Regions from separate parts of the Homo sapiens genome. Here region 2 is linked to region 1. Evidence: promoter capture Hi-C in human tissues and cell types (Jung and others, 2019). All regions are on one chromosome and are shown on one strand. The core of a region is centred on a gene start or on the middle of the fragment in contact, and the rest is flanking DNA. Distances in the headings are between cores, read along the strand shown.

What was found. The method cuts DNA at HindIII sites, captures the fragments that hold promoters and counts their contacts. A contact is called where the count stands out against the background at its distance.
Region 2: a fragment that was not itself captured here is called in contact with the fragment with the promoter of SPATA8 in region 1 in 3 of the 25 tissues and cell types used here (dorsolateral prefrontal cortex, spleen and thymus).

The regions. Positions count from the first base shown.
Region 1 is chr15:96,778,631-96,786,223 of GRCh38, reverse strand. SPATA8 (spermatogenesis associated 8) reads right to left here and starts at 2,789. Exons shown (of 3, transcript NR_158223.1): 1 at 2,635-2,789; 2 at 1,965-2,071; 3 at 609-1,228. SPATA8-AS1 (SPATA8 antisense RNA 1) reads left to right here and starts at 2,887. Exons shown (of 4, transcript NR_102753.1): 1 at 2,887-3,048; 2 at 5,122-5,223. The HindIII fragment of the contact is 9,916 bases long and covers 245-7,593 here.
Region 2 is chr15:96,707,919-96,715,511 of GRCh38, reverse strand. No RefSeq gene overlaps it. Among named protein-coding and RNA genes, the nearest start is that of SPATA8-AS1, 72 kb to the left of the region's middle. The HindIII fragment of the contact is 3,131 bases long and covers 1,431-4,561 here.

The DNA.
Region 1 (7,593 bases), core at 1,540-4,039:
CACAGAATTTTTGACTGCAGAAGCTAATTCACTCACATTTTTTATCTTACCAGGAAACTTGTCAGTTGGAGATTCAGAAAGAGATTTTAAGATATTAGCTTTTGAATCTGTAACTAGAAACCTGGCCCATATATCTCTGTGAACAAAATGGAAATGGAATAGTAGAGCCTAAAGGTGAATAGAGACAGTAGGTGGATAAATATTTCAAATCTCAGTTCTATTCCCACAACAATTCCTAGAGTCTTACCTAGGCAGAGAATGAAATCCCTCTTGGATCACAGTATGATGAAATGTCTCTTTTTCCAGTGTTGTTGCAACAACTACCACTCATGATAGGTTGCTTCAAGGTCTATAATAGTCCCTGAATCTGAAATTCATGAAGTGCCCTCAAGATCAGCCTTGTGTGTGCTGAGTCTTAACTCTGCCCCAGTAGGCACACTGGTCCTTAAATCCCCTTCTGAACACACGCATGCCTGTCTCATGGCCCTCATCCCCCTCATTTTTCTCCCTGAGCATGCCAGGATGGCCCCCAAGCTTGCTTTCAGCTGCTTTTAGTTCTAATTTCAGAAAAAAAACAAACAAACAAAAAAAAAAAAAACCAAACAGTATCCTGTATACAGCATTTGAAATTATTTTATTCAGAAAAGTTCATGCTGGGCATGTATGCCAAGCTCCGAGCTAAGCTCCAAGGATCCAGAAATATATGAGAAACAGTGTCTTGCCCTATAGGAGCTCTGGAGAAAGAGAAATGGAGACAATGAAGAGAATCTAGCCTTGGCCTTGAATAGGGAAACGAAAGGCAATACTGGGGTTTGGCCTTGAGTAGACATCCAGAATACACCATTCCAGGACTAGCATAACATACTAGGCTGCTGAGGATGGTCTCTCTTGGAGGTAGTTCAGAAGTGGGAGAGGGAGCTGTGGCACTGGTAGGACAGAAACTTCAAAGACCAGGTGGTGGCGTCTGATATAGAGCCAGCTGATTGCCCTTTCCAGGTGAGTTCCAGGTGGTAAGGGAAAAGGGAAAAGAGACCAGTTCCCTGGGCTGTTAGCTAACTCCATGATGACCAATGGAAGAGCTTCAGGGTAGGGACACTATTGAAAAATCAGGACCAGCAATATGGGTGAAACAGGACACTTCTCCTGTTTATCTTCTGAATCAGTGGGGAAGCAGATGGCACCCTTCGCCTTTGAACCCTTTGGATCCTTCCGTGAGAACAGCTGTTCTCTGTAAACAAAGAAAAAGAGGATAATTAGAGGCAGAATGGCACACAGAGAAAGACATCCCAGATGATGGAGAGGAAAACAGAGAGAATGGGTGAGAAGGAGAACAGTGCTCCCTAAACGTTCTCTCTTCGTATACACAGAGGAAAGGTTATCTGGAGAACACATTTGGGTACGTGAGTGATTGTCCAAGGCCCATCCAGCCACTCTGGGGACAGCATGCATCGCTGTTGGCACAAACCCATAACCCATGCTGACCGAGAAGCTGCAGAATGATGCTGCCATTCCAAAGGGACAACAGGAGAGAAGTTGTGATCAAAGGCAAAAATAGAGACAAAGGACAGGAGCCTACCTAGGATAAGAAAGGCCAGAGTGAGCTTGGAGAGGGCAGAGGCTGAAGGAAGGGAGGAGGCTCAGTAGTGGGCAGCTGACTATGCCTTGAGCTATCACCGAAGAGACTCGTCTGGTTTACACTTCTTAAAGGAGAATACGCACCATCTCAGGAAAAGGGAGCAATGAGTAAATATGCACGAGCAGCACTTGGGAGTGAGGAAGGGGGCAGCCAAGGCACTGGAGAGGCTGAACTCTGGATCTCCTAACAAATGAATGGGGTCCTCCGTCTCATCCCTCCCACCATCCCCGGCAGCACCCATCCAGGTTCAGGAAATGGAGAAGGGAGGAAGTCAAGAAACTGGAGTGTTGGCTTTTGAGGCACAGACTCAGCCCTGCCACCTACTTACCTTCCTTTGCAGGCCACACCGGGCCCTTGAGGCCTCCTGGGCCACCCTTGAAAGGCCTCCAGCCGCAGGGACATGTCATGGCTTCTGAGAAATGTCGCGACGAGGTTCTGCAGAAGAGAACACAGGGGTGTCAGGATGTCCCCTCAGCATCAGGAGCCCACATTGAGTGAGAGCCTCATAGAGTTGGATTTTGGGAAAAGCTCATCTCCGGCTTGAGTGGGAGGTGCCTCAGGGCTGGGATCTCTTCATGCCATTTGGGGAATCTAGGGTGTTTTCAGCTCCTTTCGCCAACCCTTCCAGCCTCCCCAAGTGCACAGGGGCTGCTCCTCTTGCCCTTACCACCTGCCTCTCATGCCTGGCCCCAGCCACCGGTCTGAAGGGGCTCTGACAATTCACATTAAGAGAATTAGGAATGCTGCAATTTCATACCTGTCTTCCCACAAAGAAATGGTAGCCTAATAGGAGTCAGACCTACATCTGGAGTTGAAAACTGCCAAGGGCAGGACATCAGATACCTAGGACAAGGCAGCCTCTGAAAAGAGGGGGCAATTTCCTGGTAGAGACAGGAGTTGTCCTGGGCCCCTGACATCCCAGCCGGGGCCATTCCTCATGCCCTTCCTTCCCCGAGGCCCAGGCTGCCACTAAAGACAATTATCCCAGAAAGACACACAAGTGGATCCCTGGGCTTAGCGGAGATGGAGCAGCCTGGTCTGAACAAGATGCATGGGCTGGCCTTTTAGACGCCCCTTCTTCAGGAGAGTCCTGCACTCAGGAACTACATGGGAGAAGTGAAGTGGGTGCTCCAAAGAGCAACTGCCAGCACATGCTCGGAACCCTGTGGGCTGCCCCAGAAGCCCCAACGGACGCAACTGCCACTGGGCGGGTGGGGGAGGGGTGGCAGCTTGGGCAGCCAAGGGGCCCCGTCTCCTACAAACCTCCTGCACACCTGGGGAAGGCAGCAGCTCTGGGGTCTGCAGGGGGGCACCTCATGGTTCCCAACTCTCCTAGAAGCAAAAAGGGATTCAAAGAGGCCCACTTGATAACCTGTCAGGCTGCATAGCAGTGAGGCTTCCTCCTTTAGTAGGTTCTTGAAATTGTATATCTATATACAAATAGATAAATATACATATACAATATACAGGGTGGCTGCAGGTTTGCTACAACAAGGCAGTGGGTGAAGGTGACGGGTGTGCAGTTGTGGACTCTGGAACCCCCCAAGGGGCTCCCCTGCTGGATGCAGAGCTGGAGCCTTTGGGCGGCTGACCAAGACAAAAGGGAAGAGGGATGAGACAGAAAGCAGGGCCGCAAGGATGCAAGGCCTTGTCTACTAAGTCCTGCTGTCCCATGTAGGCCATCACCCCTGACCTATCTGAGCCTCAGTTTCTCTGAAAGGAAAATGGGTCATCAAGAGACAAATACACAAGAGGAAAGGAGAAATCATGAGGGCAAAATGTCCAGGGTGAATGGAGGGAAGGAAAAAGTTACGGAGATCAAGTAGAACCACAGACAGGAGAGAGCCTTTGGCGAGACAGGGGCAGAGAGGTAAAAGAGAGGGGAAGTGATGGGAAGCCAAGAAGAATTGGGTGGCAAGGAGGAGGAAGCTGAGAGTGGAATGGTAGAGACCTGGGGGAGGTAGAATCAGGAACCAGGGCTGAAATGCAGAAGAAACAGCTTACTGGACCAGTCAGGGTTGGCTGGGTGGACCTGGGATGTGCAAGGTATTTTCTCGTTCCAGTCAGAGGCAGGAGACAGGGAGTGAAGGGCGCCAGCTAAGGCAGGACAGGAGGAGGACAGAAAGCCCAAAGTGTCCTTCTCCTGTCCCCTCATCCTCTCTCTCTCCAGCCCTCCCAAAAGCCTTGCCCCAGAAACAAGGGAATGGAACCCAGGAAGGTGAAGTAGACGGATGGGGTCTGGGCATCCTTTCCAGAGAGAAATGATAGCTTAACAGTGATCAGCTGAATGGCCAGGAAACACCCCCATAATGGTGGAGGGCTGAGCATCCAGTACTGTAGCCTAGGGGAAGGGGACAGGCTTGAGATCTTCCCAGACTCCTCAGACTCTAGCCGAGGTCTCCTGTCCATGGAAGCTCAGGTGTGAGGGAGACTCAGAAATGGCTCCCAGGTGGAGAAGATCGGGCTGCCTCCTCTGGGGAGGTGCTTGAAGCCTTGTGGGTACAGCACAGAATAGCCAGGAGAGGGGGGTGCCAAGGCATGCCCACCTCCACAAGAGCCCCCGTGAGGCTGCTCCCAAAACCCTAGCAGGAGCACCTCCACTTTTCCTTCCTCCAACCCCCGGGGGTGGGGGAACTCCCTTTGGACCCAGAGAAGCCCTCACATAGTCCTCCTGCTGGCCAGCTCTGCTATCTCAGGGCCCAGTGCCCTGGGAGAAGATGAAGGCCATCACTGCAGATGAAAACCAGAATCAGACATCTGGGGAAGAAGTGTGATCCCAAGGAAGGAAATAAATGGCTCCCAACGTTGCTCAGTGCTCCCCTACTAAGCAGGAGATGGATGTAGGATTTCTCTTCAGGCAGGGCTCTGGAGCATCTAACTGTGGTGTTGCTGTTGGATCATGTTCACACATGTAGAGAGCCTGCAGAAAAGGATTTTGTGGGGAAGGTCCATTAAAACCTTTCTAGGTAAATCAGAGTTCAACAGACCCAAATGCCAGGCATCCTGGCATCCTGGCCAGGACACCACACCACTCACTTCCCTTTGCATTTCCCTATTGTCACTCTCGTCTGATATTTGTTCAGGAATTCACCCATCTGTAAGCTCATTGCTTTATCAAATATTTGTTGAGCTTTGCTGGGCAGAGGGGATACAAAAATGAATGAGACAAAGTTCCTGCATTCAAGTACCTTGCTGGGCAGTGAGAAAGGGCAGACTGACATGCTGAGAATGAAGAGAGAAATACAGGATGCAGGCGGATGGCTCAGGTAGACATACCCTTTAGTCCCTGCTCTCATGGGTAAATACAGCTACTGGGAGAAAGTTAACATCAAAAAATCCTCCAGGGGAGTCAATGATAATATTTGTTGCCTCTCACCAGGCAGATAGAAAGTTGGAAACCAGAAAGTTCTTTGCCTACTTGGGAATGTATAGTTTAAAACCAAAACATACTCACACCTATTAATCGGGGTCCTTCCCTTGAGCAGCACCGATGTCGGGGAAAAGAAAACTACCTGGCAAGTTAGGATACAGCAGGAACGGTCTCCAAGACAGCCATTGAAAATGCTCCCAAATGCTGGAGACCTCAGGTTTGAAGGGGTTCTGATGGCCATATGGACTTATAAGGGACATGGTTCAGAGGTTTCCTCAGACCAGCACAGGACTTGGGGAGGGGGAGCAGGGAAGCCCCCAGGATCCAGATTTTTGGGATGTCAGTGCTACAAGGGCTGGGCTTGTGGCTGGAAGCTGTGTCCTTGGTGTCCCCATTTGAAGGGCAGAGGCCCAGGGGCAGGTCCCAAGAAGATGGGGACAGCCCAGATGATGGTCAATGGAGTCTTGGCTGGCGGGGGAGGCGGTTCCTGGAGGGGGCCGCGAAGAGGTGGAGTGACACTGGAGTATCACCAAGGTGGTGCTTCCTTGCCACCAGAAAGCCAGGCCTGGGGAGGAGAAAGGAGGAAGATGACTCAGCTGGAGTGACAGCCCCCCTGCTCCCTGCTGCCCCTGTATTGGGCTATCACTGCTGGGGAGTGCATCCAAACAGAGGGCTATTTGATCAGTCTTAAATACCCACAGGACTCCCAACTCAGGAGAGACAGATGGGCAGAAACAGAAAAGTAAATGCTGAGATTATATCTGAAGAAAGAGAGAGAGCATAGCAAGAGCAAAGAAAAGAGTCAGGATGAAAAACCTCATTGTGTCAAGAAAAGAAGGAAGGAGAGGAGAGGAAGAACACAGTGTCCCTTAGGAAACCAGAGTCAGAGTGAGGTCAGGACAAGGCTAACAGCGCAGGAAGAGGTGACTGGCTGGACCTCACCCAAAGAGGATTGAGCCTGAAGGCTTCAGGGATGTGGTCTGTGCTTCCTCCCTCTGCCCCTAACTCTGGGGACATGCCTCTCTTGGGGATAGAATGCAGATGAAGAGAAACAGAAGTGGCCAAGTCAAGAAGCCATGGGCTGAGGGTGCCCCAGGTGCCCACTTCCCTTGGGGCAAAGCTCATCCCTAGTTTACTAGGAGTGCCTGACAACTGGCCCCTGTCCTGGGCCAGTCCCGAGCCCGTACAGGCAACAGGGCACGTGTTTTTGAGCCTCTCTCCCACCTTCCAGCCCTATCCAGGTGTCTCTGGGAAGGGTTCTTGGAGCCTCCCCCTACTGTCAAAGGAGGCCCTCCAGCAGCTGCCCTGCCTGACCGGGCACAGCTGACTCTGAGGAGTCGATGCTTGCAGCCCCATACCTTTTTTCTTTTTTCTTTCAAAAAGATCTGCATCTTAACTACAGTCTGTTTCCCACTGAGAGGAACGTGGCTGCATAGTTGATGTCAAGGAGAGAAAGGACTGTTTGGGGCTGAGGGGTGGGGACATGGGTCCTGGATCCCCCTCATCCTTCCCTGGGACGCAGACAGCCCTGGGAAGTTCAGTTATGAGGAGGACGCAAGGGACCCTAGCTCAGCCCCCGGCAGGTGGGCTGGGAAAGGAGTGGCCCTTCGTCTGGGGAGGGACTGGGCTGCTCTGTGCCCAGAAACTACATGGATAAGCAGTTGCGTGATATGCACCCGAAGCCAGTCCCCAGGAAGCCCTGCCATTGAGAGTCACTGCCACCCCATGGCCCTCTCTGCACCCCTAGACCCCACAGATAGGGAGGAGGGCTGGTCCTGGACCCAGAGGACCCCTCAACTGGAGTGAGGCTCCCCAGCTCCTCTTGCCCAGAGAGCTCTGCCAATGAAAGGGCCCTCCAAAGAGACCAGAGCTGAGAGATGGTCCAAGCTCCCCTGCGGCAGTTGTGGCTGTAAAAAGAGGGGTCTCAGGATGAGATCTGGGGCGCCTGAAAAATGGTCAAATCCCAGTGCTGGGATTACAGTTCAAGAGGCAAGCAGCAGCAGCCTGCTCCACGAGGTTAGGCTGAGGGCTGCTCTTCAGCTTGGCTCCCAAAGTGGTTTGCTCTGGATCAGCTGCTTTGAGTATTTGACCCGTGAGTGACCTGCCACTTTCAGGTCATCTCGGACCCCAAGCCAAAGTCTCACAGAAGTTGCCACTCATGACTTGCCTGAGTACACGGCACCGAAACAAACAATGCTGGCCTGCTTTCTTTTCCTTTCTCATTCCACCACTCTCCACAGTCATGTCTCCATTCACACATGTATTGTTCACTGAACAGCTATTAACTTGGCCTTGATACGAGACATAAAATAGTGAGTGGCACATAGTCCCTAACTTCAAGTTGCTCACTGCATCCTGGGGAAAGATACGGTCCTCATGAGGAGGGGGGTATTGTTGATGCTTGCTGGGGCCTTCCTTAGACTTCAGATATCGTAGGCTATCTCTTCCATTGTACCTCATAGGGAACTAAAATAACTTTAGATTGTAAAGATAGCTAAAATGTCACTAGAAAACAACTTCAATTAGAAAATATTTTAGGGGTGGCAAGGAGTGAGTAGGCCTCTGCCCATCAAGGTCTCATGGTCTT
Region 2 (7,593 bases), core at 1,747-4,246, 71 kb after region 1:
TTTTGACTGATGCACATTTTTCATTCAGGAATGCTCTTTTCGTATCACTCATATACCTTTGAATTTCTCTTTGAAAACTCTATGCTACAATTCTTTAAAAGATTTGCATGTGTATGTCTACATAGGCATACACATAAATAGCCATCAAGAAAGCTTTTCATTTTTGGTTTCTTTTAATAATTTCTAATTTGAAAATTCAGAATGCTTTGTGCTTCCAAAGCCACTTGTGATAAACAATGACTCTCTATATTCTTTCTCCCATCCATAATTCTATAGCTAAAGTCCTTTCCTTCCAGAGAAGAAGTCATGTATTTCTGTCTAACCATGATGAAATTGAGCTAAAGATTGTTCAGGCTCCTGCTATGGTGATGGTGGCAGACAATTTCATTTACTTTGTTTTTTTTTAAAGTAGCTTATCATTTTGCTAATCAACACATTTGGGGAAAACAGGAATCACTACATAATCCTGGTGTAGAAATTTGCTTTATGAAATTTTTCTCATGGAGGGAAACATGGCAGAGTTTAAGAACAAGTACTTCAGCACGTAACTCAAAGGTCCCTCTTCAGGGTCTCGATTTTGCCAGCCATGGGTTTACAATAAGTTGCTGTGATGAAACAGACACCGTGGTTTAACTACCACCTTCAACAAAGGGAAATGCATGGATATGACTTTTTCTTGGTCTCCCTATTTTTCTCCTCTTGCTCAAGCCTTCAATAATTCCCATGTCAATTATTTTTTATCGTGAAACTCGGTTGAGCTTATGAAATAAAGTGAGAAAGGTGAAACTGTGTTCCAAGAGTTTTCTTAAAATGTATTAGAAAACCATTCTTAGCTGGGCCATCTAATCACACCCACGTGCATTCTCTTTTTAATTAAGCAAGTTAACTTATTTGGCATTTATGTTTTATGCATGAGAACTCCTAGCTTTCAGATTACTTCATTTTCAGGCCATGTAATTCAAAAGCAGAAAGATCCATAGAAACATCTTTATCCAGGTTGTGTTAGACAATATCTTTGCCAGAAGAGAAAACACACACATGCCCAAAGGATCTGCCCAAATTAATCAAGACCGAGATTTTGCATTTCTGTGAGTTTTGATCAAGGAAGCCCTGATGTTTCATTAAGGGAGAGACATTTTATTAACTAAATTTCTTCTATAAACCCAGATGTCAAAATAATGTGGACAGATACTTAACCATAAATGATTAACATTGGGACAGAAATATCTATTTTTACAATTTATATATACTTTTGTTTTAGTTTTATTTATTAATATATATTTTAGATGCCTGCTCCGTGCCAGGCACTATGCTAAGTGGTTGGGGAAAGTGAAGATAAGTGAAGCTTAGTTTTTCATCTCAGGAAATTACAGAGGAAACTGACATAAGCCCAGCTGAATCTATGGCAATGTCAAATAAGGCAGCATGGGAGAGGTAGAAACCAAGGTGCATGGCCTTCTAAATGGATTTATTGCTCAGGTTGCGAGGTAGTTGAAATAGTGGTTACAAGAAAAGCTTTAGGGTCAGATTGTCTGAATTTAAATCTCAGCTCCACCAGTTACTAGATGGGTAACTAGGAAACTGAAGTTTCCTAGTCTGGACAGATACTTAACCTACATGATTAACATTGGGAAACTGAAGTTTCCTAATCTGGACAGACGCTTAAACATACATGATTAACATTGGGAAACTGAAGTTTCCTAGTCTGTGAATGGGAGTTGCAAATAGTTTCCACCCTTCTCCAACCACTTACCATAGTGCCTGTCACTGAGCAGGCATCTAAATATATATGAATAAATAAAACTACAATAGAAGTGTATGTAAATTATAAAAATAGGTATTTCTTACTCAATAATGTGTGGTTAAGTGTCTTTCCACGTTATTTTGATGTCTGGGTTTATAGAAGAAATGTAGTTAATAAAAAGTGTCTCCCTTAATGAAATGTGGGGGTTTCCTTGTCCAAAACTCATAGAAATGCAAAAATGAAGCTTCACTTATCTTCACCTTTTCCAGTCACTTAGCATAGTGCCCAGCACTGAGTAGGCATCCGAAATATATATGAATAAATAAAACTACAATAAAGGCATATAAAAGAGTAGAGTATGGATAAGAGTGGGGGGTGGTAATATTGGCTCTACTTTATGAGACCTACTTAAGATCAGAAAAAAAAGTAAGCAACTCTCCCCAAATGAAAGGGGAAATAAGAAAAAATAGAGTTCTATATATACCAATAAAAGCACTATCAATTTTAGCGTAGAGAAAAAAATCTGGATTTGATGGCGTGGTATTCTGCAGTGCTATTAATTATTTCATTCAAAGTTGTGAACATTATAGTATCATGAAAAAGGCTGCAGATATGTAATGAAGTATGAAGTTTCTTCTGTATATCATACAATTTCATTTTGGTGTTGAGCATTTGTGAAGTCGGTGCTCTCAGAAAGCGGGAGTGTATTATTCACTTGCTAAAACAGAACTGTAAATTCATTAAAGCTTTCTAAGTAGAGTAAAGGTTATGCGACAGAAATATGTCATTTATTTATAAAATATTTAGATAAAGTAGTCGTTAAATCTTAACTCTTTGGTGTAATTGGTTTATTAAATGTATCTAATTTGATTTTGATTTATAAAGATGAGCCCTAACAATTTACACTAGACTAATGAAAAACAGCAAAGTAGGTCTTTTTTGAATAACACTTTACTATTCATAGTGAGAGACTCCCCTAGTCTTTTGTAAAAACTTTTCCTGGTGTGATTTTATATTTTAGGAGGTTTCACCATATCAAGTGAGGCTGTTTTTACAAAGCATCAGTGAAACAATTTAGAGCAACAAAAAGAAGTCTGATTTTTTTTAATTTAAGTATTCAGAGTACACTGTCAATGTACCATTTCTCCCTCTTTCCCACAAAGCACAAAATTTATGTCACTTGATTTCACCAAATATTCTTTTCATCTAATCATTTCAATGATCCTCGGTACCTCTGTTAAGCATCAATGCATTTTGCATTACTTACTGTCAATAGCAAATCTAAGGTATTCTAAACTTAATTTTAGGTTCGGTCTCTTTTAGTAACAGGGAATAAACATTGCTGCACTATTGTCAGGTGTTAATGCAAATAATAGAAGCCTTGGTGTATCCACTGACAACCCATGAATACTCTGGTCAGCTTGATTAACATTGATTCACCGTATACATGGGTTGTTAGAAAATCTATGTTGTATGTGGTCAGTAACAATATAATTACTTACTGTAAGCGTGTCCAGAGATCTGCTCTATATTTCATTATTATTACCACAGCTTATTCACATGAAATGATGGTAGATCTTCAAGTCCACAGTCTTTGACCACAGACCCAAGCAGGTGTTTGTTTAATACTTTGGTCAAAGATCAGTGAGTTAAAGGTTAGGCCAGGGAGAGTGAGAATAGAGGGGTCATCGCACTTGCAGGAGGGGGGTGAGACTTGATCTTCTTGGGTCTGGAACGGTCGAACCCCAAGGTCACCCATTAGTGATCCTGCCTTTAAGGACTGTGAGATGTCAACAATAAATTCACCATGCCAGAACCTTTAACCCTCTTAATGCTGTGAACACCAGGAGCCAAGGCCAAAACCCAGAAGCAATGGACCCAGGGAGAATTATTCACACAATTGTCTGAGGGATGTGGCATTTATGTCCTTTAGGCTTGCCTCTGTTAGAGCAGACAGCTAAGAAAAAATGTTAATGTTGGTTGATGTTCAAACTTTCCAGACAAACAATACACCCATGCATGGGGTGTAGACGTTATACAAATATGGTGCAAATAGCATTGTTGAATTGTCACACTGTCATTCTGCAAGGAGTGTATCCAAGTAACAGAGATTCTTAATGTAAGATTTGTTCCCTCCCCACGTTTAGAAATAATCAATTCATTAAAGATAATGGAATTAACACGTGATGTTAGAATATTTCTTTCTCAGTAAATGCAGAATTAACATGGGGAAGACAACACATTTTAAGAAAGCCTAATGCTAAGATCTCAAACATAATTTTGCTTAACATACAAATCATTCCATCAATTAGTCAACTCCAAATGTATTGTCAAGATTCACGTAGTGTGGGCAAAGAGAGCTTACTGTGCTTCTGTGAACATTGTTAAAGTGAGTGTGGAAGCATCCACCAAGTGGTAGCTGTGTCATACAATGAAACCTTCTGGGACCAATGAGCATTTATAAGTATCTTCTGCATGTGTTATAATTATTTCTAAAATTCATTTATCAAATATGTTACCCTACGCTTTTCTAAGTCAGCCCCCTCCCTATAGCTATCTAGACTGAATATGCTCGGATTTAAATTAGCTATGAACATCCTGTTGATACTAACCCAGCTTTTTTAACACTTAAAATGGCTATTCCATCCTCAAACACAGAATTAAGCTCAACCCACTGTTGGGAAGCAGGTTTTCTTTAATATGCCATTAGCAGGACTGTGGGACTGTGGTATTAGCATTTATTAAGTCCAGTATCTTTCTTGAACAGGCGTCCCAATTTAGATGATAAATTACGTGGCCACTCTACCTAAAAGTATGCTTGAGTACATCATGGTGTAAAAGCAGTGGCATACAGGCTAAGTGCTGGCTGGCTCGATACAAAGAGGGCAGAGATTCTGCCACGGACCTAAGGAATTTACAGTATAGTATATGGCAGAGATGGGACCTACCCCAAGTCAGAATGTTCCGAATGTAAAGTGCTTTAGAGAGAAAAGAGAAATTAATCCCAATCAGGGTAATTCACCAAGGAGCTGGAGCAGTAAAAAGAAAGTAGGGCTTAGAAGGAAGCACATTGATTGGACTGCAATACAAGGTATGTGAAGGAGAGGGAGATGTGCCAGGTCACCAAGACTGGGCTATGTCGTGGGAACTCCAAACATTGATTAAGGTATTTAGACCTGTGCTATAAGGAACTGGGAGTCTAAGAGTCAGATATCTGTTTCAGGGAGATATTGCTTTCAAATATATATGTATTTGAGAAGGAACTATTAGAGAATGTTTAGGAGGCTACTGTCCAGGCTAGGGAGAGAAGCCAAAGGCATTTATTTAGCAGTTTTACAGTACTAGGTTTGTCAAATATGCTATCTCATTTAATATTCAGAACAAGTTTATGAGGCAGGTATCATCATCATCATCATCATCATCGTTATTATTCCTGTAATTCTTTTACAAATAGACAAACAGTATTAAGGAGATTAAGTTACTTGCCTGGGTTCATAGTCAACCAGTGCAGAACCTAAGTTTGAATCCATTTCTGCTATGATTCCAAAACGCTTGCACATTCTGGTATAACATTGCACTCTCTCTCTGGAACATAGGTAGAACTTAGCGCCAGCACACATTTTGAGGTATCTAAATAGAATCCCTGTTTCATTATTTCAGGCAAACACTACATAACACATCTGTTTTGTGCTCTATCAAATTCAATAGAAGAAATGTACGATTTCTTTTTGAGGAAATAAAGTTTACTTAGCCCCTATAAGGAGGCTTCAGAAAAATAGCAGAGCACAATCACTTGATTTTATGGGATATTTGAATTCAACGTGCTTCTGAACAAAACTTCACAAATCACGGGTATATGCAAGATCTCTGGTGAGCCCAAGGAAGTAAATGAACCAAAAGTTCTGGGATGAGGTATGAAAACACATGAAGGTCAAAGTTTTTTAAAATGGCAACTTTCAGACTCAATAGTTAATTCCTTCTTTCTTGTCTTCATTTCCATTACATGAATCAAACAAAAAACTGATAAGATTTTGAAGCAACAACAACAAAATTCAATGTATCTGATACGGCAACCTGAACAGAACGGAAAAGAAAAACAAGAAAACCTTTCATCTAAGCACATTTAGAGCCATGAACTTAACAACCAATGGCTTCTTCAAGAAAACTGGGAGGCATTCATTTCTATGTATTTCTGTCTAGGGGCATAGAGCGAAAGGGAAAAAGAGTAGGACACTTTGGGGTACTCTGGCCTCTTGTGAAAATTTAATGGACATTTCAAAAATGACCCAGAAAGGTAATCAATTAGAGCCCAGCTCCTGGTTAGGTTGGAGAATATTTAGCTCGTCTTACAAATGGGCTGCCCGTTCTCAGGCATACGGTGAGTGATGCTGGACGCACCTGTTTATTTTGCTCTGATTACACAAGAGTATATTTTGGGTTGGAATCATTAGCTCCAACAAATGAAATTCCTATTTTTATTCAAGTAAACATAGAAATGTTTAAATGATTCTGCAAATTGAGGACATGCACCAAAGACAACAAAATTATGACAACAAATTATGTAAACTTTTTAAAAAATCTTGTTATATTTTTCCCTGAAACTAGAACATCTACAATATGTTTCCATTTTGGTAATGTGTGCATTGTTGTTGCTTTTTTTCCCCGAACTTCCAACATCCTTTGCAAATAACACATTTTTTTCTAAAAATAAGAAATGGCTCTAAAACGTAGAGGAAAAATATGCTTGTCTAACCGTAATTTTTTTAGAGAAAAAAAACCCAAGCTGCTTTAAAAACTGAAAGACAAAGAAAGTATATTTCACTATAAATTATTCATTGCACTCATTTTGGATCAATATTTATAGATATTCACAGGCTTTTTATAAAGCTTGGGAGATTCTTTTAAATGTCATAATTTCCTTCTCAAAGCCAATGTCAGAAGCACAGCTTAGCGCTGACAATAAATGAACACTTGAGGTGCATGCCCTATTTTTTCCATCCTTTAGCATCAGGGCAGCTTGAAACACTGTGGGTTTCTGCCACCATTCTACCAAAACACTCCATTACTGACCTACTACATTCTGCCAAGTGGTTGCATTTTATAGGAACAAATAAACAAAGACACTGGTCATCTCTTCCCATTGAATGAGAACAGAGATGTGGCCACTATGATGACTCTCCATTGAGGAATTTGGGGCAATGATTTTTGCATTCAATCCCATCAACTCACATTAAGTGAGCAATAAAGGTTCCTAGAAAATATGGGTTGGGGGAGACCTGGTAACATCTCACAGCTTTCTGGAGAATGGCTTCTTGCCTATGGTCTGCTGGGGACAAGCCTGAAGATGAGGCTTAGAAGATAGAGGGGTGTAAATCAGAGAATGTCCTGCCAATCAAATATTACCTGCTTCACTCCTTTGATGCCCCCAAGAATTCAGATTTCTCTACCATGAAAAAAATATCAGCACCCACAGGGCTGTCTTCTCAGGCCCTCTACCAGGAGCATTGTTACAGTGAGAGAAAAAGAGGTTTAAAAGCTGCCACAGTGAATTCACCTACCCTGTTTAAGAAGCAAAAAAAAAAAAAAAAGTCTCTTTGCACCATCAGAAAAAATGTTTTATTTGCACCTTCCTAATTAGGACAGTAGAAATAGTTTAAAACTATTAAACTACAATATGAAAACTGAATTTTTAAACATTAGTTGCCCTTCTTAATGTGAAGCAATGGGATAAGTGAGAGAATTTGTAAATTCTAAGTATAATAAAAAATCAAAGAGGTCATCACAGTTAGTTTTATTGACTGCACAAACAATTTTGCTTTTTATTACATTGAAGAAGGGGAGCCAGTGAA